Linked DNA regions of Homo sapiens: region 2 is linked to region 1. Evidence: promoter capture Hi-C in 16 types of primary human blood cells and fetal thymus (Javierre and others, 2016). All regions are on one chromosome and are shown on one strand. Each heading gives the region's core, a stretch centred on a gene start or on the middle of the fragment in contact. The rest is flanking DNA. Distances are from core to core; before and after follow the strand shown. Region 1 holds the start of OR9G1 (olfactory receptor family 9 subfamily G member 1). Region 2 holds the start of OR5AP2 (olfactory receptor family 5 subfamily AP member 2).

What was found. The method cuts DNA at HindIII sites, captures the fragments that hold promoters and counts their contacts. A CHiCAGO score of 5 or more calls a contact.
Region 2: the fragment with the promoter of OR5AP2 here is called in contact with the fragment with the promoter of OR9G1 in region 1 in 3 of 17 cell types (neutrophils, total B cells and naive B cells); the score reaches 8.6 in neutrophils.

Annotation. Positions count from the first base shown.
Region 1 is chr11:56,697,777-56,700,535 of GRCh38, forward strand. OR9G1 (olfactory receptor family 9 subfamily G member 1) reads left to right here and starts at 1,319. Exons shown (of 2, transcript NM_001005213.2): 1 at 1,319-1,414; 2 at 2,594-2,759. The coding sequence starts at 2,612. The HindIII fragment of the contact is 13,944 bases long and covers 1-2,759 here.
Region 2 is chr11:56,640,997-56,643,755 of GRCh38, forward strand. It overlaps OR5AP2 (olfactory receptor family 5 subfamily AP member 2), which reads right to left and starts at 1,443. Exons shown (of 1, transcript NM_001002925.1): 1 at 493-1,443. The coding sequence starts at 1,443. The coding sequence ends at 493. The HindIII fragment of the contact is 8,469 bases long and covers 222-2,759 here.

The DNA of each region.
Region 1 (2,759 bases), core at 69-2,568:
GTCCAGCAGTTTTCAAATTTTTTCTTCAAGAAACCCCTTGGAGTTCCCTTGGTTCCATGTTTTCAAAGATGTTGCCTCATCCAAAAAATTGTTCTAATTTTGTATGAAGTAATCAATTTAAGACAAACAGCCCATATGGCCACAGAATGAAACTACAAATCAAAATGATTTAACATTAAAATGATACATGTTTTCCAACAAATGCAGATGGAAAAAGAGCATTTTCTAATGAAGGGAAAATAACAGAAGTTAAACTAATGAGACGTAATATAAGATAACAAGCAGAGCTACAAGACAACAGTGAAGTAGGAAAGGGACATAAGAATTTCAGGGAAGTAGGTTGCAATATGGTGATCAGGGAACAACTTTAGAAGCCGTTAAGAACTGAGAAATGTGAGGGAACTGGCTATAAAGACTCCTAAGGGGAAGAGCATTGCAACAACAGCGTGGAGTGAAGGCAAGGCATTGCTCATACCATGGTATTCTAGAAACTGAATTATAGAATCATACTATGTTATTCTAGAAACTGAATTCTAGATCATACCATGTTATTCTAGAAACCCTTTGGAATGGATTGAACAAAGAGGAAAAGAGTAGGAGACACAAGCAAGTGAGTAAAGAGGGCAAAAGCACAAAGATCTTGCACATCTTTGTAAGAGTCTAACTTTTACTCTGAATAAGTGGAAAAGTCATTGGATGGAGTTCTTAGAAGAGAAAACTAACATGATCTAACTGGCATTTTAACAGGACCATTTTGGCTGCCATGTGGAAAGACTCAAGTGGGATAAGAATAAAAGCAGGAAGACCAATTAGAGGCCAATCATGGCCCCATGTAGAGTGAAAACACTGGAGCTGGGAGAAACTAGTCATGTTCTAGATGCATTTTGAAGGTAGAATCTAGGAGATGTTGCTAATTAATAAGCGACAGAGTGTAAGAAAGAGAGTGGTCAAGAATAATATAAAACGACTCTCCCTAACATGGAATAATGCCATTTACTGCAGTGGAGAAGACTGAATGAGGATCAGGTTAGGGAGGATTGTTAGTAAAATTTTTTTCTTAATGATAACACTTAAGCAAATAATATAGCTCTTAGAATACAATGATAAAACAGTATTCCCTGTGAACTCAATTTTCTTAAGATGCCCAGGAGACATTAGGGAAGAAATATTAATTGGGCATTGGAATCCATGAGTCTCACTTCAGGGAGGAGGCATAGTCAGGGGAGGTAACATTGGAGTCATGTGCATATGGAAGCATTTAAAGTCATCAGATTGGATGAGATTACCAGAAACTGATGGCAGATGGAGAAGACCAGTGGTTCAAGCGCTGATTCTGGGGACACTCCAAAGTTCAAAAGTCTGTTCTGTAGCACTGAGACACATGCAGCAAGAGAAGTAGAAGCAAACCAGACAGGTATGACAACCTGAAAACCAAGTAAAGATTTTCCAGCAGAGAAGGAGTGAGAAACTATGACAAACGCTGCAGGTAGATCTAATCAGAAGAGAACTTCATCATTCGGTTTAATCATGTGAGATCATTGCAACTTGAATGGAGTAGAGGTAGCAAAAGCTCAAGTGGAACAATCTTATATTGTTCTATATTTACTCAGAAATAACACTGTTTACTAACATTGATGTTTATTAATGCTAATATTGAGAGTTGAGTGTGAACTGAGTGTTTTTCCTAGGTCCCAAGAGGAAGATCATACAAATACAAATCATGTACACTTGAATTTTAACTTATTTACCTACAAAATGACTTAGGTTAATGAGAAGTTAGTCTGTCAAGAATTGTCTTTACAGTGTAAGACAGATGTATGCTAGATATATTTTGCTCTACCCATTTCAATAGAACATTTGTAGTTCTATATGAAGAGAATCCTGAAGAGAGTGGGTAGATTTTCAAGTCATCATAAGAAATACTGTAGTATACATAAATTACATTTAAAACTGGTGTTTCAATTATTGTTATTATTGTGTTTATTATAGAATATGTGTAAAATATAGTAAATACTGTGTACTTCGTAATTTCATCATTGTATATCATTCTTCTGTACACATTTTCCCCAAAACATTGTATCTATTCTCTTTTCCCTTTATACTTTTCTTAGTATTTTCTTAGGCCTATATATAATATTATGAGATATGAATTTATAATGCTTTCATAATGTTTCAATGCATAGAAACTAGAGGAAAAATACTTTATTCTTTTTAAACTATATTTAAAAGAGGGATGCCCAGTATTTTAAAGACAAACAAGTGATACTTAAAAATAGAAATGTACACATTTAGCAAAAGAGAAAATTGACAAAAGGAAGAGGATCAAAGTATAAGAAAAATAGCAATTATAAGTACATCTTTTCTTCACTTGAACAGTCATTCCTAAAGGAAAAACATAATTAAACAACTTAAGAAATTTAGAATTGAATACATAATTGCAAAGCCTGATTGTTGCAAAATGAAGACTTTCTAAAACAAACAATTAGATTGTTGGTTCTAGACTTCACGAAACACTGCAAATGTGATCTTATGTAACATAATTCTACATATTCATGACAGTAATGCAAACTGAGCTCATTTTCTTTCCCCATAGGTGAGATTCCTTACAGCCATGCAGAGGAGCAATCATACAGTGACTGAGTTTATACTGCTGGGCTTCACCACAGACCCAGGAATGCAGCTGGGCCTCTTCGTGGTGTTCCTGGGCGTGTACTCTCTCACTGTGGTAGGAAATAGCACCCTCATCGTGTTGATCTGTA
Region 2 (2,759 bases), core at 193-2,692, 57 kb before region 1:
TTTGGGACATCTCTGAAGGACATCTCTGCAGAACGCCATGTAACAGTGGCTCAGTCTTCGTCACAATTCAACTCCTTCTGTCCAATCCTGCTCCCCTCACTATATATTGTTTGTGAGAACACTCTGATAAACTTTCTGCCTAAAAATATCTCTCTGTCTCAGTTTGTTTGCCCAGAACCCAAAGACACCAATGTTTGTATAATAAAACTCAGACTGAGATAAGCTTAATATTTAAATTAAAACTTAAGTCCAGATTAGCCAATTCCAAGTGTTTTGATACTTTTTCCAGTCCCAACCTTCATCTAGTGTATTGGTGCATCAAAGGGACCCGTGTGTGTGTGTGTATATATATATGAGATACTAGGATATTAAAAAGTATACTTCATTTTAAATTATCTACTTTAACACAGAGAAACAGCTTAAACAATCAGAGAATACAGTTAACATGAAAATGTATTTTCTTCTACGTAACAAATGATGGGTAACATGGCTCTACAAGATGTGTTTCCATAAGATCTTCTTTAGGGCCTTTTTTACATCCTTATTTTTTAAACTATAGATGAGGGGATTTAGCACAGGGATTATTACTGTATAAAAGACAGAGACAACCTTGTCTTGCTCCATTGAGTAGCTAGATGTAGGGCGCAAGTACATGAAGAGGATTGTTCCAAAGAATATGGTGACAGCCATGAGGTAAGAGGCACAGGTGGAGAAGGCTTTGTGCCTGCCCTCTAACGAAGGCATCTTCAAGACGGCAATGAAGATACACAGGTAGGAAATGAGGACAATCATAACACAGCTGATGACAATAAAACTTGAGAATGCCATGATCACAATGCCATTGAAGTGGGTATCAGAGCAAGAGAGTTTGAGCAGTGGCGGGGTGTCACAGTAGAAATGGTTGATCCTATTAGAACCACAAAAGGACAACCTAAAAGTCATCCCTGTATGTATGGCTGCATTTCCACAACCTGCTAAGAAGGAGGTAGCTATTAGCAAAAAGCAAATTCTCCCAGACACGAGAACTGGGTAGAGCAGGGGGTTCCAAATGGCTGCATAGCGGTCATATGCCATCATGGCCAACAGGAAGCACTCAGTCCCCAGGAAGGAGCCAAAGAAGTAGAACTGGGCAGCACATCCATGAAAAGAAATGGCCTTATTCTCAGCCATGAGGTTCACCAGCATCTTGGGAGTGACGGAAGAAGAGTAAGAGGCATCTACAAAAGAGAGGCTACTGAGAAAGAAATACATGGGGGTGTGGAGACAGAGATCAATCTTAATCAATACAATCATCCCCAAATTGCCCACCATGTTTGCCATATAGATCAACAGAAACAATGCAAAGAGGACTCCTTGTAGATCTGGATTGTCGGAAAGTCCTAAGAGGAGAAATTCTGTTACTTCTGTTTGATTTCTGCCTCGAACCTCTTTCATAAGTCTCATCATTTGAGCTGCAATAAGAAAGAAGATGCACAGTGGAATTTAGTCAGATGAATACATGATGGAGCTATAATATATTTTTAGTGAAACAACTTCTAACAGAAGAGCAAAAAGTGAAAAGCATAATAAAAGGTATGTTGGATTTGATGCCAAATCAAAAGACTTGTAGTACTAGATGTGCTGTCTACTAATGACTGAAGCAAGTGATTTAGTGTGTATTAACTATGGTCATTCCTACAGTTAACTCTTTATTGAATAATTAAAATAACTTATTCTTAAGATGTGACTGTCATAATTACTTGTGATAAATAAATTAATTTATATATACTGACATACCCTCCAGACACAACTTCTGGAGAAGGATGATAGAATGAATTCAGGACACTTACAATTCCTCCTCAGTACTAATAGAATGAATAAAAATATTGAAAGTTAATAAAATTAATCTATAGTGCCAGACAAGAAAAATAGTTGGGCTGGGCCTGGTGGCTTACAACTGTAATCCCAGTACTTTGAGAGACCAAGGCAAGGCAGATCACTTGAGCTCAAGAGTTAAAGACCAGCCTGGGCAATGTGGCAAAATCTCCTCTCTGCAATATTTAAAAAAAAAAAAAAAAAAAGCTATGTGTGGTGGCTCATCCCTGTGGTCTCAGCTACTCAGGAGGCTGAGGTGGGAGGATTGCTTGACCCCAGGAGTTTGAGGCTGCACTGAGCTGGGTTTGCACCACTGCACCACTCCAGCCTGTGCAGTAGAGTGAGACGGTGCCAAAAAAAAAAAAAAAAGAGAAAGAAAGAAAGAAGGAAACAAAGAAAGAAAGAAAGAAGGAAGGAAGGAGAGAGAGAAGGAAGGAAGGAAGGAAGGAAGGAAGGAAGGAAGGAAGGAAGGAAGGAAGGAAAAAAGAAAGAAAGGAAAGAAAGAAAGAGAGAAGGAAAGAAAGAGAAAAGAAAGAAAGAAAGAAAAACAGCAGAATCTCTTGGGGTAGAGGAAGAGCTTAAAAATGCCTGGCCAAAGAAGAAAATAGAGAATATTCCCACACAGCCAGTACAGTTCGAACCCCACTCTGATTTTCCATAATAAACATCTACAGAGAACAGAATAGGGTCAGTTAAATAGTAATTTTCCACAATTCATTCCAATATTTAGAGAATCAGATTGTAAGAATGAGTAGGCATCCCCGATAAAAATGGCAGAAGTAGCCAAGCCAGTGAAAATCTCTAATACTCACATTCACAAGTTCTCAAGAGAACCAGAAAACATCAGAAGTAGCACATGCAATTTTTCAGCCACCATACTTAATCAAGGGAATAATTTAATACCA